Regions from separate parts of the Homo sapiens genome. Here regions 2 and 3 are each linked to region 1. The links are contacts of gene promoters, found by promoter capture Hi-C in blood cells and fetal thymus (Javierre and others, 2016). All regions are on one chromosome and are shown on one strand. The core of a region is centred on a gene start or on the middle of the fragment in contact, and the rest is flanking DNA. Distances in the headings are between cores, read along the strand shown.

The links. Contacts are between HindIII fragments. The CHiCAGO score rates a contact against its expected background, and 5 or more counts as called.
Region 2: a fragment that was not itself captured here is called in contact with the fragment with the promoter of LINC02478 in region 1 in 2 of 17 cell types (non-activated CD4 T cells and activated CD4 T cells); the score reaches 6.1 in non-activated CD4 T cells.
Region 3: a fragment that was not itself captured here is called in contact with the fragment with the promoter of LINC02478 in region 1 in 6 of 17 cell types (monocytes, total CD8 T cells, activated CD4 T cells and 3 more); the score reaches 8.5 in monocytes.

What each region holds. Positions count from the first base shown.
Region 1 is chr2:160,270,526-160,273,294 of GRCh38, reverse strand. LINC02478 (long intergenic non-protein coding RNA 2478) reads left to right here and starts at 1,400. Exons shown (of 2, transcript NR_103775.1): 1 at 1,400-1,575. RBMS1 (RNA binding motif single stranded interacting protein 1) reads left to right here. Exons shown (of 14, transcript NM_016836.4): 14 at 1-1,144. RefSeq lists an enhancer at 2,583-2,769. The HindIII fragment of the contact is 15,786 bases long and covers 1-2,769 here.
Region 2 is chr2:160,913,405-160,916,302 of GRCh38, reverse strand. No RefSeq gene overlaps it. Among named protein-coding and RNA genes, the nearest start is that of TANK-AS1, 250 kb to the left of the region's middle. The HindIII fragment of the contact is 6,579 bases long and covers 1-2,898 here.
Region 3 is chr2:160,930,696-160,933,423 of GRCh38, reverse strand. No RefSeq gene overlaps it. Among named protein-coding and RNA genes, the nearest start is that of TANK-AS1, 230 kb to the left of the region's middle. The HindIII fragment of the contact is 924 bases long and covers 849-1,772 here.

The sequences.
Region 1 (2,769 bases), core at 151-2,650:
ACACAAACAAAAAAGCATGAAGGAAGATTTGGATCCAAGCAGTGCCACACTTTACATCATCACTACAAGTGTTCAAGTGTAAAGAAAACCAATTTTGAAACTATGAAATTCCTGATTCATAAATACACAGTTATTTCTACTTTAGTACATATAAGATAATTCACTGTTATTAAAGCTCTTTTATTAAGGCAATTGCATATGTTTTAAAAGCAATGGTAAATTAAGTTGTCTTCCAAAACTGTGTACTTGTCTGGTCAGCTGTGTATGATCAGTTATCTACCTCAGAGTCTATTTTCTTTTGTGCTGGGACAGGTTGCTGGCCCTCCCTGTTTCCACAGACCAAATCCTCCTAGCTCAGGAGCTAGGGCTAAGCAGTTATTTCTTTCAAGTATTTTTTAGTTCTTAAATTTTATGCTTGTATTTGATGATAGATGTCAGTGACATTTCATAGTTTCAAAAGTCCTTGCTGCTCTGAGAAGTGTAGATTCTAGTGAAAATTACATAGTCATAAGAGAAATGTGTTTTTGTTTTTGTTTTTGTTTCATTTTTTTAAAGTTGTGGTATTATTGGTTCTATGCTCCCTGGAATATTACTGCTTTGTGAAAGTCCAGACTGAACGCAGCACCCTCTGTGTACCTAGTACAGTTATAAACCTGGGTCTCTCACTACTTGATATTTTTGCATTAGTTAAGACAGAAATTTGATAGCTCGGTTAGAGGGGAGGGGAAATCTGCTGCTAGAAATGTCTGAACTAAGTGCCATACTCGTCTGGGTAAGATTTGGGAAACATAACCTCTGTACATAAAAAAAAAAAAATCAGTTAAACATCACATAGTAGACAGCCATTAAATTATAAAAAAATTAATTTATGAAGAAAGACCTTTTGTACAGATTGAAAAAAAAAGATTTTCATAGAGATATCTATATGATCAAGAGAGTTAATTTTTTATTTTTGTTTTACTAGTGCCACAGACTTGCCAGTGGTAACTTATTTGTCCGGTTCAAGATAACTCTGTAGTTTTCTTTCCTAGGACTTGTTGTTAAACGCCAAAAGACATTTTTGAACTGTACATTTGATCAGATTGTTAGCTTTTCTGTTTTATTTCTTTTGAGAACCTTTGAATAAAAAACATCTGAAATTTTATTTTTCCTGTCAATTTTTTTTAAGTCGATTAAGTGTATATCAGAATTTCATTTCATTTCTGATCTCTTTCTTCAGCTCAGTAGATTGGTTTGAAAGTGAGTTGAAAGTTATGTCAGATTCAATATATCCTCAAAATACATTTCCTTGAAAACAATTGGAAAAACCTTTCCACCCCACTTTTGCTGGTTATTTAAATCTGTGTAATGACCAGAGACGTCAACCCTCAGCTCAGCACGTCAACCGTCAGCTCAGCACGTCAACGGTCGGCTCAGCAAATATCCAGCCCAAAATACACCACTAGTGGTCTGTTCTTAAAGACCAAAAAACCAGGCCCTTTTTCTTCCTCCTTTCTTGCTGCTACGCCTCAACTATTTCATTGCTTGTCAATGCTCAGCAAGGAAGACAGCCTAACAGCAGCCCTCCCACCTGTGGTAAGGAAGCATGTGGGCGAGAACCTCGGGATAATCTTATCTATGCGTTTATGACCAAGGTCCTCTTTCAGAGCTACCTGTTCAGCTGTTCCCGACTGGAGGCTCCCGTGCAGCATTCACGGAGGAGCGAGAACTCCTCTTTCCCTCACTTGACTGCTTTATAGGAGGCACTTAATATGCAAAATAGGCTCCTTCTGCCCAAAGTGGAGTAAACGTTTTAGTGTGGTGGTTCAGTATTTATTTCCTGGTGTCCAGTGGCTCTGTCATGGTGATAAAAAGAGTGGGCAAGGAAAAGATGCAGTCCGCTCCATTTCTGGCTGCGTCCCCTGCCATGTGGATGGTGTGCGGGGTGAGTTAGATAAGGGAGGGGTCAGAGCACTTAACTTGCCGGAGCCAAGAAATCGCTGGTACTTGATGGCTGTTTCAGAGAAGGAAACAACATTCCTCTGATGCTAACTGGTGCTTCTGAGAGCAAAATGTCAGGGAGGAGAGAAGCATGGCCTCTCGAGACAAACCCAGGCTGCTAAGAATGTAAGCTCTGGTCTCACTTTGCGTTCCAGCCAAACACCTAAGTGCTCCTTTCTATGACCAAAGGTAAGAAAGAAATGCAATTCAGGCTCCTGGGCACCTTCGTTTTTGTTCACCCTATTTTTGTTGTAGCTTCTCGCCGCTGAAGTCCGCGGCCCTCTATCTGGCTGTGTTATGTACTGAAACCGGTAAACATACTCAGGAGCACCAATCCACGGAAAAGGGAGGATCAAGCCAGCGATGGTGGTTCACAGTTACCGCTCCCATATAACTAGAGGGGTTGTGGCATGTTTGGGGATAAACCCCACCTAGCTGAAAGCTCTGAGACTGAAGTGGAATTCTGGGGTTGGAGGAGAGGAAAGAGGGTGTGGCCGTTGCTCTGTGGTCTACGTATTTTCCCCTCTATAGTGGCTGGAATGAGGAAAGCCAGGGAGTGGAGGCGGGAGTCCCGTTTTTCACCCCACTGCCACACCCTTCATGGCCAGTGGCTCTAGGTTTATCCGCTGGAGCTTAAATCCCACAAATACTGATTTAAAATTCACTAGGAGAAAGGCAGTGCCTCCCAGCCTGAGCCGGGGCTCAATGAATGTTAAGATATGACTGATTATATCCTCATTCCATTAGGGTAGCCAAAAAGGAAAAGAGCCAGCGCCATTGGGACAAAGG
Region 2 (2,898 bases), core at 80-2,579, 640 kb before region 1:
GCGGGATGCCTCCAGCTTTCTTCTTTTTGCTTAGGATTGTCTTGGCTATACGGGCTCTTTTTTGGTTCCATATGAAATTTAAAGTAGTTTTTTTTTTTTTCTAATTCTGTGAAGAAAGTCAATGGTAGCTTGATGGGAATAGCATTGAATCCATAAATTACTTTGGGCAGTATGGCCATTTTCACGATATTGATTCTTCTTATCCATGAGCATGGAATGTTTTCCCATTTGTTTCCTCTCTTATTTCCTTGAGCAGTGGTTTGTAGTTCTCCTTGAAGACGTCCTTCACATCCTTTGTAAGTTGTAATCCTAAGTATCTTATTCTCCTTGTAGCAACTGTGAATGGGAGTTCATTAATGATTTGGCTCTTTACTTGTCTATTGTTGCTATCTAGGAACACTTATGATTTTTGCACATTGATTTTGTGCAAACCTTCAACAAACCTGACAAAAACAAGCAATGGGGAAAGGACTCCCTATTTAATAAATGGTGCTGGGAAAAACTGGCTAGCCATATGAAGAAAATTGAAACTGGACCCCTTCCTTACGCCTTATGCAAAAATTAACTCAAGATGGATTAAAGATGTAAATGTAAAACCCCAAACCATAAAAACCCTAGAAGAAAACCTAGGCAATACCATTTACAACATAGGCACGGGCAAAGACTTTATGACTAAAACACCAAAAGCAATTTCCACAAATGCCAAAATTGACAAATGGGATCCAATTAAACTAAAGAGCTTCAGCATAGCAAAAGAAACTAGCATCAGAGTGAACAGGCAACCTACAGAATGGAAGAAAATTTTTGCAATCTACACATCTGACAAAAGCCTAATATCCAGAATCTACAAGGAACTTAAACAAATTTACAAGAAAAAAAAACCCCATCAAAAAGTGGGCAAAGTATATGAGCAGACATTTCTCAAAAGAAGACATATATGCGGCCAACAAACATATGAAAAAAAGCTCATCATCACTGATCATTAGAGAAATGCAAATCAAAACCACAATGAGATACCATCTCGTGACAGTCAGAATAGCAATTATTAAAAAGTCAGGAAACAACAGATGCTGACAAGGCTGTGGAGATATAGGAACGCTTTTATATTCTTGGTGGGAGTGTCAATTAATTCAACCATTGGGGAAGACAGTGTGGCGATTCCTCAAGGATCTAGAACCAGAAATACCATTTGACCCAGCAATCCCATTGCTGGGTATATACCCAAAGGATTATAAATCATTCTACTATAAAGATACATGCACACATATGTTTATTGCAGCACTATTTATGAAAGCAAAGACTTGGAATGAACCCAAATGCCCATTAGTGATAGACTGGATAAAGAAAATGTGGCACATAAACACCATGGAATACTATGCAGCCATAAAAAAGAATGAGACCATGTCCTTTGCAGGGACATGGATGAAGCTGGAAGCCATCATTCTCAGCAAACTAATACGGGAACAGAAAACCAAACACCACAAGTTCTCACTCATAAGTGGGAGTTGAACAAGGAGAACACATGGACACAGGGAGGGGAACAACACACACTGAGGCCTGTCAGTGGGTGGGGGCTAAGGGGAGAAAGAGCATTAGTACAAACACCTAATGCATGCGGAGCTTAAAACCTAGATGATGGATTGATAGGTGCAGCAAACCACCATGGCACATGTATACCTATGTAACAAACCTGCACATTCTGTACATGTATCCCAGAAGTTAAAGTAAAATTTTAAACAATTTAAAAAAGAAAAGTAAGGCATCCCTAATATCCAATGCCCTCATTCATACACACATAATACATTAGAATTGTGTATTCTAATGTAGATTAGGGAGAACAGCAGGAGGGAGATAGTTGTGGACTGAATGTTTGGGTCCTCCTGCAAATACATATGTTGAAGTCCTAACCCCCCAGGGTAATAGTATTAGGAGGTGGGGACTTTGGGTGGTAATTAGGTCATGAGGATAGAGCCCTCATGAATGGGATTAGTGCCCTTATAAAGTAGGCCACAGAGAGTCATCTTTCTGCCATGTGAGGATACAATGAAAAGTTGACAGTCTGCAACAAGAAAGAGGGCCCTCACTAGACCTTGATCTCAGACTGGTATCCCCTGATCTCAGACTTTCGGCCTCTAGAACTGTGAGAAATAAATATGTTGCATACAAGCCACCCAGTCTTTGGTGTTTGGTGATAGCAGCCCGAACTAAGTACTCACACTTCAGTCTACTTGTAATATTCATTAGATCAAATCAGTCAATAATATGGCACTTTACCCCAGGTAATAATTTTATACCTACAAATGCAGCTTATGTAATTGCTTGAGTGAAGTCTTTTAAAACCAGGTTATCATTTTATTACTATTTTATTAGATATTAGTGTAATGATTGATGGGTGGAAACAACATTAATGCTACTCTGTGTTAGGTCAGGGCTTACAAAGATAAAAAGAACTAGATTTTACTCTCAAATTGCTTATGCTCTAGCACAAAGGCGTATGGCCAATCAAATATTAAACTACAGTAAGATAATTGCTAAAGGGAAGTTGGTGTTTTCAAGACCCCAGAAAACTTAACTCTTCTCTGAGTTCTGAACTACTTTGAGAAGTAGATAATAGAGGTCAGACAGGAATAAAAAATGGCCTTTCTTGCTAGTAATGGGTTGGAGAACATATCTTGGATCTAAGACCAATAGGCTTTACATCCTCTCCACCCACCTTGAATTGACATTGTCTGGTGGTGGGCAGAGCAGCTGCTCTGGTTCAGACAAGGTGGCAGGAAGTAAAAAGGAAAATGTGGGTTGTTTGTGGGCAGCCAGGTCCAGACAGCATCAAAGAGGATGGATCTCTAGTGAGGAGTATCACCCTGTCTCCCAGTTCCACCAATCAGAGGCTGATGAGAC
Region 3 (2,728 bases), core at 61-2,560, 660 kb before region 1:
AGATACCTTCTCTTCCCAACTCACTGATCCCAGAGGCTGACCTATAGGGAGGCATCCACTAGGATCTCCCCCTCTCTGGCTTCTGATTGGCTCTGTGGCCGGTGGACTTCCCAGTGGCTAATCGCAGGAAAGGGGGAGGGTAAACAAGGTATTTGTTTCCTGGGCTTCCTCTTTGCTGTGTTGCTTGCAGATGCCTTCTACATCTCATAGGATTTTCTCTTTCCCAATTCCCACAGTGACTCAGGCCTCTTGTCCCTTTGGGCCCAGATGTGATAACATCTCCTCTGATGTTACTCTCCCTGGAGCATTGCACTATTCCCCTAACCCTGCCTGCACTTTGTAAACAGTCCCTCTGTAAATAAACTCTCCTCCAATCTAATGTGAGTCTGCCATTTCCTTTCTATAGAAATCTTGACTGAAACAGATATGGTTAGTAATATTTTGTAACTATGTAATATTTTATGGCTTGTACATTTCTTCTATATTTATTTTTTTATTTTTACAACATAATATGGTTTAAGTAGGTTTTTTTAAAAAATCAACATTTTATGAATAAGAAAACTGAGGCCAAGAGAAGTTAAATAAAATGTCACCCAGCTGGCCAGTGGGAGAAGCAGAGAGCAAGCCTGGTTTAATGCCTTCATTTGTAACTCTTTTCACTTCTTCAAGCTGTCAATCCCCCTCCTTCCCCACCACAAGTTATATAAACTGATACCATTACCTGATACAAGTACAATTGAAGTTATATTGTTTTCTTAACATAAACACTGAAAGAATCCACGTATTTGTTTCATTTGAGGCTAAGACCCCTCTGAGGAGTGGGAGAGAAAGGCTCTCACAGGCAAGCTTCTTGGCAGTGTTGCACATGATCTTATGCATCTGCCTCTTCCACAACCTGGTCTCTGAGGATCCTTCCATCCAACAGTGGCTTAACCACTCACTCCTTTGGCTCCCTCTATTCTGAGGCAGCCTCTACCATAGAATCCCTAATAGTTTCGTCTGTATCTCTACCTCTTCCTGCAGATTGGCAGCTCCCTAAATGCAGGGTTCTATTTTGTTTTTTCCATTTGCTACTGTATCTCCAATTTGTAGCCTAATTCTGGGTGCACAGTAGATGCTCAATAAGTATTTGTTAACTGAATAAAAGAGCATCTATATGTCTGGTGTATCCGTATACCAGTACATTATAAAATCATGGGGCTACACACAGTGGTTCATGCTTGTAATCCCAGAAGTTTGGGAGACTGAGGCAGGAGGATCACTTGAGCCCAGGAGTTCCAGACCAGCCTGGGCAACACAGGGAGATACTGACTCTACCAAAAATTAAAAAAATTAGCCAGACATGGTAGTGTACACCTGTGGTCCCAGCTACTCAGGAGGCTGAGGTGGGAGGGTCAACTGAGCCATCCCAGGGGAGGTTGAGCCTATAGTAAGTTGTGCTTGTGCTGCTGCACTCCAGCCTGGGCAACAGAGTGAGACCCTGTCTCAAAGATAAATAAATAAAATATCGTGGAGTCACTTCCTACTTCTCAGTCTTTCTTATCCTCTATTCTCACCGGTTGCTAATTTCTGTTTATTCTACTTTTGGAATCTCTGTTAGATACGTTTATTCCTTCTCATTCTTACTGTCACTACCCTAATTCAGGGTCTCAGTGCTGTTTCCTTGAAGTCAGTTGTAAAAGTTTTGTAAAGTAACTTCTCCTTTTTGCCTGCACGCATGCCAGAGTGGTCTTCCTAGAGTCGACCTCCGATCATCTTACTCATCACAAGCTTTTAAGGGCTACAAAGCAACAATTAAGACACAGCATATCATTCAATGCCAAGAACCTTGCTACACATTTATTTCCCCAAACATCCTTTTATATCCTCTTCTTTTGAGCCCCCCTGAACTCCATCCTGTCTGTCTTCTAGTTTCTTCCCACCTCCATGCCTTTGCTGGTACTATCATAACATCTGAAATACCTGTCTTTCTCTGGTCTATTTGTGTACAAGGCTATGGTATGAAGCCACTTCTTCCATGAAATATTTCCCAATTGTGCTCTTGCTAATCTTTTTTTAGAAGTAATTTTTTTCTGGGTTTGAATTCTCATAGTACCTTATCTATATCATTTTAGTAGTATTTAATACCATCTGTGTATTAGGATTATTTATGCTACCACTCTGTGTCTCAAACAAGACAGTAAGATACTTAAGTTCAAGATACATATTTAATTATCTTTGTATCTTTCTTATTATTAATACATATGGTATTTCATATTTAGGACATATTGATAAATATTTGCTAAATTAATATGTGTAATTGCATAAATAAAGCATTGACAAGAAATGGGGCATCTGTATCAATGCAAGGCTAGTGAATGAGGTGATCCTGAAGCATGAATATAAATCAGAGGGATACATCACTGTAGCAAAGACATAGAGGTAAAAGAAAGTGCCTGTGTCACTTGACCCCCAGAGAGGGTGTATTAGGGTTTTCTAGAGGGAAAGAACTAATAAGATATATATATGTATATAGCTCTCTCATATATTTGAGTTTCTTAAGTAGTATTAACTGACACCATCGTAAGGTCCCACAATAGGCCGTCTGCAAGCTGAGGAGCAAGGAAGCCAGTCCAAGTCCCAAAGCTGAAGAACTAGGAGTCTGATGTTCAAGGGCAAGAAGCATCCAGCACGGGAGAAAGATGTAGACTGAGAGGCTAAGCCAGTCTAGTTTTTTCACGTTTTTCTG